Regions from separate parts of the Homo sapiens genome. Here all the other regions are linked to region 1. The links are contacts of gene promoters, found by promoter capture Hi-C in blood cells and fetal thymus (Javierre and others, 2016). All regions are on one chromosome and are shown on one strand. Each heading gives the region's core, a stretch centred on a gene start or on the middle of the fragment in contact. The rest is flanking DNA. Distances are from core to core; before and after follow the strand shown. Region 1 holds the start of ARMC3 (armadillo repeat containing 3). Region 2 holds the start of LOC124902393. Region 3 overlaps PIP4K2A (phosphatidylinositol-5-phosphate 4-kinase type 2 alpha). Region 4 overlaps PIP4K2A (phosphatidylinositol-5-phosphate 4-kinase type 2 alpha).

What was found. Contacts are between HindIII fragments. The CHiCAGO score rates a contact against its expected background, and 5 or more counts as called.
Region 2: a contact is called between a fragment that was not itself captured here and the fragment with the promoter of ARMC3 in region 1, in 1 of 17 cell types (total CD8 T cells). The highest score is 5.0, in total CD8 T cells.
Region 3: a fragment that was not itself captured here is called in contact with the fragment with the promoter of ARMC3 in region 1 in 14 of 17 cell types (non-activated CD4 T cells, fetal thymus, activated CD4 T cells and 11 more); the score reaches 7.9 in non-activated CD4 T cells.
Region 4: a fragment that was not itself captured here is called in contact with the fragment with the promoter of ARMC3 in region 1 in 5 of 17 cell types (megakaryocytes, naive CD4 T cells, naive CD8 T cells and 2 more); the score reaches 7.2 in megakaryocytes.

What each region holds. Positions count from the first base shown.
Region 1 is chr10:22,926,574-22,929,572 of GRCh38, reverse strand. It overlaps ARMC3 (armadillo repeat containing 3), which reads right to left and starts at 1,520. Exons shown (of 19, transcript NM_173081.5): 1 at 1,467-1,520. The HindIII fragment of the contact is 5,434 bases long and covers 1-2,999 here.
Region 2 is chr10:22,553,644-22,556,642 of GRCh38, reverse strand. All of the region lies in intron 6 of PIP4K2A (phosphatidylinositol-5-phosphate 4-kinase type 2 alpha), which reads left to right. It overlaps LOC124902393, which reads left to right and starts at 1,348. Exons shown (of 1, transcript XM_047426113.1): 1 at 1,348-2,146. The coding sequence starts at 1,443. The coding sequence ends at 2,060. The HindIII fragment of the contact is 1,539 bases long and covers 634-2,172 here.
Region 3 is chr10:22,572,050-22,575,048 of GRCh38, reverse strand. PIP4K2A (phosphatidylinositol-5-phosphate 4-kinase type 2 alpha) reads left to right here. Exons shown (of 10, transcript NM_005028.5): 5 at 1,592-1,738. Among named protein-coding and RNA genes, the nearest start is that of LINC03027, 140 kb to the right of the region's middle. The HindIII fragment of the contact is 674 bases long and covers 1,106-1,779 here.
Region 4 is chr10:22,611,851-22,614,849 of GRCh38, reverse strand. All of the region lies in intron 1 of PIP4K2A (phosphatidylinositol-5-phosphate 4-kinase type 2 alpha), which reads left to right. Among named protein-coding and RNA genes, the nearest start is that of PIP4K2A, 100 kb to the left of the region's middle. The HindIII fragment of the contact is 2,660 bases long and covers 244-2,903 here.

The DNA of each region.
Region 1 (2,999 bases), core at 271-2,770:
CTGTCTCCTCCCCCAAAAAAAGCCTATGTGTTTTATCACCATATTGGGTATGATAGTTAATGGAGGAGAGACTGAACAGCTGACATAGGTCGGTGGCAATGAGCTATGGAGATGATCCTTACAAGGGTAATACATTTCACTGTGGAGAATTTGGAAAACAAGGGCACAACGAATAAAATAAAAATCACCCAAAGATAAGCTCAGAGAGATCAATACTATTTCTTTTCTTTTCCTTTCCTTTCCTTTCCTTTCCTTTCTTTTTCTTTTTCTTTCTCTTTCTCTCTCTCTTTCTCTCTCTCTCTCTCCCTCTCTCTCTCTCTTCTCTTTTTTTCTTTTTCTTTTTCTTTTTTGAGACAGAGTCTCACTCTGTTGCCCAGGCTGGAGAGTGGCCTGATCTTGGCTCATTGCAACCTCCACCTCCCAGGTTTAAGAGATTCTCCTGCCTCAGCCTCCTGAGTAGCTGGGATTACAGGTACCCGCCACCACGCTCGGCTAATTTTTGTATTTTCAGTAGAGACAGGTTTCCCCACATTGACCAGGTTGGTCTCGAACTCCTGACTTCAGGCGATCCACCCGCCTCAGCCTCCCAAAGTGCTGGGGTTGTAGGCGTGAGCCACCGTACCTGGCTTTGTGTGTTTTTCTAAAGTGATTTTAACATCCTGCCTCAACTTCTATCCCCTACTTTCACCTTCCCTTCCTGGGTTCATATTCCTACTAAATTCTTATATTAACAAATAAATTCATGAAGTCTCAGTTTCCCTTCATTGCTTTAATAATCTCCAGTGGATTAGCATAACATGCCATTACAAATATTTTAAAATCCCTTAGCTATCTAGCCAGTCTCTGATTGTTGAAATTTGTTTCTAATTTTCTGGAAATATGGACAGGGCTGAAAGAACGTCCTTGGACATAAAATTTTCATCCATTATCCCCAACTATTTCTTTAGGATAAATCTCTAGCAGTAAATTAACTGGGTGAAAACTTCAGGGCATTGGATATGCAAACAACTCTGCTCTAAAAATGCATCTTCTTGACTACTGGAGCCATTTTTTTTTTCACGAGTTGATTGGTCCTTTGTATTTGTTCTTCGTGAACGTTCAGCCTATGATTTTAAATATTTTCTAATGAGTTCTGCTTTGAGAAGATTTAAAGAGGAGGAGGGCTCAAGAAATCGAGGCCACTTCTGAGTTGCTCACAGTCAAGTAACGGAATCTGACTTGATCTCACCTCAGATCCCCTCTCGGGCCTCAGTTTTGTCACCTGTTGAATGGGAGGTGGCGGGATGCTTACGAAACCCACCCCAAGCCCCGTCTAACCCTGCGGGCGCGAGGCAGAAACTAACAACGCCCAGCAAGGTGTTGCCTCACTGACCCAAGCAGTCTGCGCCCACGTGGCACCTTCTCCTTTCCCAGGTTTTCCTCAGGCCTCTGCCTTGGGCCTCCCCACCCCACGGGGTTACCTTTACCTGCCGGGAGATCCCGCCGAGTAGCTAGCTGCTCCGCAAACCCAGCAGACGAACCCCCAGTCCCTTGTTGTGCCTCGTTGCTAGGCGACGCCACGCCGCGCCGCGCCTGCGCCCTGGGAACGCTCGGGGCTGCTAGGGCGCCCATTGTCCCGCCGAGGGCAGCGGCCAGTGCGGGAGGAGCCAAGTGCGTCCGCGATTACCTGAATCCAGTGCTTTAGGGGAGAATGGAAACTGGGGGTGGAAGCTGTAAATCAAGAGGCAGTTCAGCCTCAGTTTCTGGCCCAAGGACTGGCTGTGGGTTCAAATACGCAAATACTATTGCATTCTTCCAAATAGAGGCGTCAGCCGGAATCTCTATGCAGATGAAACCCACATCAGCCACCTCCTGCCCAGGCTCCGTTAAGCTGCAGACCTGCACTGCCACATCTCTTTGCACTAGGATGTCCAATCCGTTTCCACAGAACTTCTCATGGCCCTTCAAAGCCCCGTTCTCTTCCTCTTTCTTTCCTCTTCCTGCCATTCTTCCAATTGCCTAGACTCAGAAGGAGCTTCAATTTCCCTTCTTCCTCCCATGCCCCCCAACCACAGTCATCACTTCAGCCACTTCTTGGCGGCTTACATTTTGTTTCCTGCTTGTTCCCTTTCTCATATCCTTATTGTCACTTCAATCCAGCTCGTCATTTTTTGGCCTTCTGGCTGAGAAATTCAGTTGCTCTCTGCTTACAGTTCTTTCTACGTATCACAGGCAAATCGGCCATCCAGAAATCATCGTTCCAGTCTTGTCACTTCCCTACTCAAATGTCAGCGGCTTCCTAAGATAAATTTTCAACACATTGGCCTGGAATTTAAGACCGTCTGCTCCATCTCTACTCCATCTGTGCAACCACATTTTCAACCGATCTCCACCATCCAAGCTCCAGCCAAACTTACTGTTCCCGAAATTTTCCACACTTTTCTCTAGATTTTCTTGCTTATCTGTTCATCACTTCATTTTTCAACAAATATTTATAAAGTAGCTTCTATTTCCCAGGTCATGTGCAATACCTGAAATATTCTCTCATTTCCACTTAATTAAGCCCAGCTCAAATGCCATCTTCATAAAATATTTTTTGATTGCCTTTAGCAAAAAGTCTCTCCCTCTCCTCTTAGACTTTGCAAATTCCGTCTCCTACCGGCCCCTGTTGGTCTCCCAGTCCTAAGAATGATAGATGCTTCTTATAATTGCTACTTTTATATATCTTATGTTCTCTTCTCACCATTTAAATTGCCTGATAAACAGCTTTATAACAATTATTTGTATTCAGTTTTCCATGGTCAAATATCCGGTGTGACTTCTGTATAGAAAAGATCTTAAGTAATGGTCATGAAAGTAGGAAAAGGATTAAGACCAAGTAGCATCAAGGAAACTAAGGAGGGAGTTTCAAGAATATAAGCGTCATCAAGTGTTATATGATTGGACCTTGAATAATATACACCTGTATTTTCAGCCTCTCCCTGTCTTCCACGTTTTTTCCTGTTGGTATATAATTATGT
Region 2 (2,999 bases), core at 154-2,653, 370 kb after region 1:
GCAAAACAGCATTCACTAAATTATCCACTATTATAATGTGCTGAGAAAAAACTAACCCATGGAAAATTAAGGTAAGACAGAAGTCAGCAAATTTCTGTCTTTGGCCAGATACGTAAAATCATTACATTTTATTCCATATATTGAATAAAGATCATAAATTTCAAATTCTTTATTACTTCAGGAATTTAACCAGTCCAATTTTTATGATAAGATAGGGACATTTTACTCTCATTTGGGTTTCAGTTTAAACAAAAGGTCTTTTCAGTGAGGTTTCCTACTAGGAATAGCTTTTGCAGGTGATCACAGAGGTTTTTCTAGCTGGTAGCATTCACAATTGAGGTTTGCAAAGCAGTGTAGGGAACTAGAGCCGCCACGACAGGGAGGTTGGCGCCTCGGGCCATGTCACCTTCGATGCATCCTGTCTCATGTGCCCTCTGTGTTCCCCGTGGGTCCTGTGTAGTGAAATGAAATACTAACTTTGCCCTCATGTATGGTAGGTTTGTGTGCAGTGTGCAGTGACAAAAGTGTCTTCCAAATTTGAAGACAGTATGTAGAGAATTCATGTGACATGTTTGTAACTAGCAGATAAAACCTAAAAACAAAGGAAATTTTAAACATCGTTTAAATAAAGCTTGTCGCTCACGGGCTGCATGGGGCCCAGGACGGCTTTGAATGTGGCCCAGTACAAATCCGTAAACTTTCTTAAAACATGATGAGATTTTCTTGTGATTTTTTTTTTTTTTTTAAGCTCATCAGCTCTCATTAGTGTTCACTGATTCTATGTGTGGCCCAAGACAATTCTTCTTCCAGTGTGGCCCAGGGAAGCTAAAAGATTGGACCCCCAGGTTTAGATTACCGACATCATAAATTGTTTTTTTTTTTTAATTATCCAGGTATCAACTAGAAGGTATCCTAAGTTTAAAGACCCTATTTTAGAAGAAATAGACATAGCAAGTTACTATTGCCAGGCACTATGTGCTTTGTGTCATTTGATTTACACACTAACCCTATTACATAGGTACAGTATTATTAATTACCCATTATATAAGTAAGGAAACTGAGGTTTGGGCAGACTAAGCAACTGGCCCAGAACATCACAGCTAGTGTTAAAATGTTAAATATGTCAGTATATTTTTTAAAAGAAAAATCTTGCTCTGGATTGATCAGCGATGCGCTTTTCCTAGATCCATAAGCCATACTTGAGAACATGATTAGCATATAACGACGTTTGTATATAACACACTGTGTGGCAGGCACCATTTTAGGCCTTTTTACATGTGTGAACTCATGCAACCCTCACAACCCTATGTTTGCAAATCCCCCTTTAAAGATGGGAAACCAAGTCACAGAGAGGTAACTTAACTTGCCAGAGTCACATAGCTAATAATTGGAGTTGCGGAGCTACAACCCAGGCAGCCTGGATCTAGTGTGTTCACATAACCATGGGCTTCAGTTTGTCTCCTACGTGGAAAGCTGAGCCATGCCTAGTCGACCTGGGGTCGGGCATCACTCCGTATGACAGTGAAGGGCTCATTTTATCCGAACGGGAAGCAGGACAGCCAGGCTGCGGGGGGAACGGCGTCCCTCTGCTGATGCCTGTGGCTGTGTTTGTGCATTTACACGTCACATTAGCGGAGATGAATGCCACTTGGAATCCAACCCACCGCAGCAGATTACCTCATGCAAGAGAGAAAACAGCCCTGCCTGTGCTAGCCTGGCTCTGCGTTGGGCTGTATTTACTCACGGGGCCTCAGCTGGCCAGGGCCTTGGAGCAGCTCTGGGGCCCCCGACCCGGGCAGGAATCCCAGCTCAGGACTAGACGCACAGAGGAGGACGGGGTGGGGAAGAGCAGTTCCCTCCCATACCCTCGTCCCCTCCCAGCAAGTACAGAGGGTCGTACAGCAATCGTCCCGCCTTACTTAGAGGCTCTGATCTGCACAAAACTGGCCAGAGCTGAATTCAGCGCAAATAAAGACTCGGCCCGCCGCCACTTCAGAAAGGTTGCTGACCGCTGGCTGGAAGCCGGCCTCGGAGAGTCCACAGCTGAGAAGCATTTCTGAGCTGTCTTTAGTTAGCCCTGGGGGTTTCTTCCACCCTCTGGCTGTTTCTGCACTGAACTAGAAAAGATATCAAAGACACTCATTAAAGAACCAGACCCAGTGACTACAAGCTTGGAAAACTCTAAGCGCAAATAATCCAGTGTTTAAAAGCAAAGTGTAGAATCTGTTGCTACATTAAGCTGTCGCTGCCCACAGTTAATTTTCTGCTGCTCTGCAGACGTCATCTTTGTAGGCAGTTTTACACCAAGAGTTTATTAAGTTCATTAAATCATAGTATAGTTTTCCACATTTAAAAAAAAGATGTTTCTAATATAAGCACTGCTCATTATCAGAGAGATATATTGAAATTTCTTTTAAAAAGCTAAGTAGTAAGATTTTCTTGAGAGTGAATCATTGTCAGGTGACTTAACCTTTGTCATCTCGTTTTTTTCTTTTTGTTTTTGAGGTAGGGTCTTACTATGTCACCCAGGCTGGAGTGCAGTGGCGCGATCATGGCTCTCTGCAACTTTGACCTCCCGGGCTCAAGCGATCCTCCTACCTCAGCCTCCCAAATAGCTGGGATGAGAGGCACACACCACCACGGTTATCTCATATGTTTTATTACTTTTTTGTAGAGATGGAGTCTCACTATGTTAGCCAGACTGGTCTCGAACTTCTGGGCTCCAGTGAACCTCCTGTCTCAGAGTCCCAAAGTGCTGAGATTGCAGGTGTGAGCCGCCACGCCCAGCCTATCTTGTTCTTAATTTAAAAAGAACAGTTAAGTTTTTGTAAAAAAAAAAAAAAAAAAAAAAAAGTTTTTCAACCTGTAATACCCATTTCAAGTCTGTGCGCTTTATTAAATGCTCACAGTGATGATGATGACGATGGGGGTGGTGATGGGGATTATAAGCACCACTATTTGAATCTGTCACATGGTTTCTGATTGAGTTCCCAGCACAA
Region 3 (2,999 bases), core at 193-2,692, 350 kb after region 1:
GCCCAAGATCTCACAGCTCGTAAATGGAGGCGCCAGGACACACACACACACCTTTCTGGCTCGCAAACCTACGTTCTCTCTACTGCACGTGGAGACTAGACTTCCTCAGTCTCCATGTTTGAAGGCCCATCCAACCACCTTTCTACAGAGGCCAAGAACCCCTTTTCATTTCTCTAGATCAGATGTGAGAAATTTTCTTTTCACCCAGTGGCTATTTACTGCCTGTTTTGCATTAGCAAAACTCAATTTATTATATTTTGAAAGGAAATAGAAAATGTTTCACTCATCTAATTTCAAATAACAAGGTGAAACTCTACTCAGGAATTACATGAGATTAAAATTTATAGCTCAGTTATTGTCAATAAGAAAAAAGAAAGGGAAGAGGCATCTTTAAAACTTGCCAAAACTCTAGATGGCAAAAATCAGAATCAAGTACCAATGCTGTTTATCTTTAATGATCAAAACCAAAGACTTTTTCATTCTTAAGGTGGTTAAATATTATCAGAATTGATTATTAACAGTATTTACAACTAAGAAGTTTGAAAGGACATTTTAATTACTTTTGTATTTTTTATAAAATGCTCATTGTAAAAAAAAAAAAAAACAGAAAATGAAAAATTCAAGCAGTATAGTAGAAAAGGATCAGAATTCCCTCCAATTGCATCATTAGCATCTCTGAATATGCCCAACATGTATGGTGTTTACAGTAATGGAATCTCACCATTTATGCTGTTTATTATCCTGGAGATTGCACACGTGTCAGTGGACATAGAGCTTTTTTGAAATATTACTTCCCCATGATTTTAAAGGAAGGAAAACCTAAGCTTCCTTTGGGAAGTGCAGAGGGACCCGTTTTATGAAAATCTGCTCTCAGGGAGAAGTGGCTCCATCTTGTGGCCCTCTGGAGTTTGGTCATGAAAAACAGCCAAGGTCGTGTTGTGTTTTTTTTGCAACTCTCCTCGGAAATGGTGTCAACCCTGGGCTTGTCCAGTTAACTTGGTGGAAACCAGCAGGGACAAGGCAGTCCCCATCTGCCGGCAGAGCAGGAGCGAGGGTGCTATGGTCACAGGGGTTGCCCCCTTCTCCCCTGCTCTCTTGAGAAGCTTAGCTCTGCCCTCCCAGCTTCTAACACTGGGCTCCCCACAATTTCCTCTTTCATCTCGACTTCAACACTGTTAGAGAAGCTATTTTAGCAGCCAGGTTGCTCTGCCTCAGCCTTGTAGTCAGGGCTTTGGGGGTAGAAGACAGAGGCGCTAGGTGGAGTGTAATATCCCTTAAAAGGAATTTGAGAAAGATAGTCACATGTCCTCTTGCCTTACACGATCATATCCAAGGTTTGACCATACAAATTCCATTTGGAATGTTGGAAAAAAATCTGTTTGGAGATAAAATTGAATTTTCTTTTCTGTGTAGAGATGGTGAACACAGATGTGATTGGTAAGCAGTACAAATGTGGTCATTTTCTGTAAATAAGACCCTAATGGCTGGAGGTTTTCACTTTGTATGAACACCATAGGCGTATGTATTTTACATCTAAGGAAGCAATCTTTTGATTGGATGTTTTTTTCCTTTTTCTTTCTCTCCTATGCAGTACATAGTGGAATGTCATGGGATCACCCTTCTTCCCCAGTTCTTGGGCATGTACCGGCTTAATGTTGATGGAGTTGAAATATATGTGATAGTTACAAGAAATGTATTCAGCCACCGTTTGTCTGTGTATAGGAAATACGACTTAAAGGTGAGACTGATTTTATGAATTTTTGTAAAGTAACTCAAGCTTACTCTTCTACATTGTAAATGTTGTCATTGATCATCAGAAATGCTTAGGAGCCGCTCAGCACTTAAAGCTACCAGACAAGTAGCAGTGTATTCCTTCCTGTGAGGCAATAAGTGCTTGCTGGCCTCACCAAAAAACACTGGCACATGTTAGAGATATCACATCTACTTAAATATTCAGCCAACTGCATACCAGGCACTGTTCTAGATGCTGGAAGTGATGGGATGAACAAACCAAACCTGCACTCGGGGAGCTGACATTCTGGTGGGTAAAGACAGGCAGTAAGTAAAAGTGATAAGTTAGTCATAGAGCATACCCAGAAGTGGTAAGTGCTATAGACAGAATTAAAGAGGGGGAGGGTTTTAAATAGTCCTGTCAGGGAAGGTTCCCCTGAGAAAGATGACATTGGAGCAGACTTGAAGGAGATGAGGAAATGAGCTGAGGAAGAATATTGCTGGCAGAGGGAACTGTAAGTACAGAGACCATTTCAAAGGCTTGGAGATAAAGGGGGGCCCCTGGAAATTCTGAGAGTGGAGTGACATAATCTGGCTTCTGGTATCACCAATTCAGGGGAGAATGTTCAAGTTAGGGGTTGGAAAACTATGACTTTCCTGAATTCCAAATCCTACTTGAGGGACTTTTTTTTCTTTTCTTTTCTTTTTTTTTTGAGAAAGAGTCTTCCTCTGTTGCTCAGTCTGGAGCGCAGTGGCTCAATCTTGGCTCATGGCAACCTCTGCCCCACTGGCTCAAGCAGTCCTCCCACGTAGCTGGGACCACAGGCACGCACCACCATGCTCAGCTAATTTTTTGTATTTTTTGGTGGAGACAGGATTTCACCATGTTGCCCAGGCTGATCTTGAACTCCTGAGCTCAAGCAATCCACCCACCTTGGCCTTCCAAAGTGCTGGGATTATAGGCATGAACCACCGCGGCTGGCTGGGCCAATTTTATAAATACATTTTTATTGGAATACCACGATGCCCCTTGTTTCTGTATTGTCTGTTACTGCTTTTGCACTGTAATGGCAGAGTTTGGTAGTTACCGCAGAGACCATTTGGGACCACAAAGCCTAAAACGTTTACCCACTGACTGTTTGCAGAAAAGTTTGCCAAACTCTGGTCTCTGACATTTGGTTCTCAAGTTTTTTGGTCTCAACGCTTTCACGCTCTTACAAGAGGACACTCGAAAGCTTTTGCAGATGTGAGTTGTGTCTGTGGATATT
Region 4 (2,999 bases), core at 324-2,823, 310 kb after region 1:
TGAACTAGAGACAAGCAATATATTTTAGTTTGGGTAAGAGCAAAGTAACAGGCTAAAGGAGAGAGTTTTTCAGGAAGTTAAATGTCTTTTCAGTTATTAAGCAGCTCTGCAAGTAATCCATTTCAGTAAAACTGACGAATGATCGCTAAGCCTCATATACAACACAATAAAATGTGTTGTAGAAAAAATAATATAGAGGCTCATGGGTACACTATTGAAAAAATAGTTTACTAATTAAAAGCTTCTCTTTTAAGTAGTAGATCCTCTGTTTTGTGAAGTGTTTGTTTACAAGTCATTAAATCTAGCTACCACCTGACGAAGAAGTTTTCTGGGGGGAATCCGGAGGGGAAATAAAGCCAAAAGCAATGTGATGCAAATGTAAAGAATGAAAGGCCACCTGGAAGAAAGATAAAGTAGCCATAAAGTAGCTGTCAGATCTAACTCAGTATCCTGCCGCACTACTCAATTATGAAGGTATAGATACTGCTGTACCAGGACATATTACAATCTGCAAAATGAGAGGTTAGACTATATGATCTCCGAAATTCTCTTTTAATTTCAGCATCTTATGATTCCATGTAAACCATTTGATTTTTCTTCTTGTCTCATTTCTTGTCTTCTTAGATAAAGAGGACCAAACATTCTCTACCTCTTGGGGTAGTCTGGTTTTGGAAGATGGGGAATAGCTAAAAGTTTGTGTTTCCCTGACATTTAAATGACACAGTAGTCAGAACTCTCCGTCCCTCAAGGGCCATGTAGGGCTGCACTCCTTCCAAGAAGCCCGTCACCCACACCCGTGACCACGGGCTCCTGCTCTGTGCTTCTGTGGCACTTGTTGTCTGGCTTCAGCATTTCTTCTGTGCTGCTTGGTATTTTACTACATGTGAAGGTCTTGCACCATCGACTACAGTGGAAAACTCCTTACAGTCAGGGATCTTGTTTTGTACTGACTTTCCATTTCCAAGTGATGGTCCTGGAACTCCTTTCCCCTTTATGTCACACTCAGCCAGCAAACACCCTCCATCCTGAAGAACGCCTGTCATCCTGTCTCTGCACCTGCACCCTGGGGTTGAGCTCTGCCAGAATGAGGAATGTCATCCACAAGTTCACTTGGTTCCTGTACGTGAACCATCACAAACTGTGGATGACGCTCAGCTCTGCCCGGAAGCCCAGCCTCCTGTCTCTATTTAAACTTGTCCATCCACATTCTGCAGTCCCCTTTTTAAGCTCTCTGTGTTCTCTTTAACCTTTGAAGTCCTCAGCCTGCTTCTCACTCTTAGCAGGTGGCCATGGCCCTAATCCCCAGAGAAAATAGGAGCCAGTGGTCGGGAGCCCCATCTTCCCTCCATCAGTTCTGCTCCCTCCCCATGACACCTATCTCTTTTCCCTCCTGTGAACAGGAAAGTCGCTTCCCTCCTCAGAGCCTCTCCTTCCTGCATGCCTGAATCCCATCCCCTCCCACTTTCTCGAGAAGTGCTACGGAATGTCCCTTCTCTGTCAGGTCCTCCCTCTGTCCCTCATCCCTCTTCATCTCGCTCCTGTCCTTCCCTGCCAGGCTCCTTAGAAATCAGCCCTGTGCAGTGCCAGCATTTCCTTAACTCAACTTAGTCTGGGTTCCATTGCTACACTCCACCGAAACAACTCTGCCAAGGTTGCCAAGGACCTCCTGTGCCGTTCAATCTGGCTGACATTTCCCAGTCCCTGCCTTCTCAAAAGCATCATGATCATCCCATAGCATGTTTGAACCCCCTTTTCCCTTCACTCCCATTGGGTGGCCCTGTGCTTTTTCACTTCCTGCCTCGATGGCAGTTTTCCCCTTTCTCATCCTCTTCTCCAGGCTTGGAAACATTCCCGTTCTTGAAGACTGCTTCTCCGCCTTCCTCCCCATCACACCGGCCCCTCTCCAGGTTACCTCATCCACTCCTCTGGGGAGCTAATGTCTGATGCACAGATACACACATTTTTATCTCTTGCCCCTGCTGCCCCTGGGAACTTCAGACCCACCTGTCCACGGCCTACCTGACATTGACACTTAGATGTCCCAAGAGCGCATGAAGTTTAACAAGCTCAAAACTGAACTCTTCTCTTAAGATGCATTGTGCCAGTCGTTGGACCCACCAGCTTCCCCCGCATGCATGCAGCATTCCCTCCATCTTTCCCTACATTTCTAGTCTGTCATCATCAAGCCCCATAGATTTCAGCACTTCAGCATGCCGGAGTCTCTCTGCTTCTTTCGTTTCTGCTGCCGCCTCCGCCCTCTGCTGAGCTGCTCTCCTCTGTCTGGTGCAATTCTACAGCAGCCGCTTCCCGGTGCTCCTGGGCCTGTTGTTCATCCCTTTCATGCCACGCACCTTGTCTATTTCTGCACTGTTTTCCCATTAACAGTGTCCCCTCCTCTCTAGGACTCGCCTTCTTCCTGGAAGCCCTGTCCACCTGCCCTCTCCTTTCTCCACGAGCCATTGCTGCCCAGGGAAGCCTCACATGCCTCCCCCATCTGGCCTGGGCCTTTTCCATACTTGCTCGTAGCCCATTGTGCTTCTCCCTCCTGACTCTGTCATTGTTAGAGTTCAACACTTGGGGCAGTTCTTCAGTTAATGTGTCTGCCCCTCTGGACCATAAGCCCCAAGAGGACAAAGACTGGTGTCCGAGCTGTGCCCAGCACAGAGTGGACTCTTAAAGGTTGTGCTGACGCGAGGATGGGTGGGGAAGGAAAATCAATAAGGAAAATTCTCAGTTTACTCATTCCATGTTGGCTGAAGTTTTCATATTTTCTCCACAAAACATGTTCCAGAGCAGGTACCATAAAGCAAAAGGATGCAGAAAGTTTCTGGTTTCCTGTTTCCTGTCTGAGAAGACTCTCTTAAGTGATACTGATTTAAGCAGCCTGAGGAGGCATCAAAGCTTTGGAGGATCTGCTGAACACATCACGCGCATTTAAATAATCAGTGTCTGATCCCACCTCCACGTTGGGTTTCGCTTTCTCTTGTTCCACAAGATAT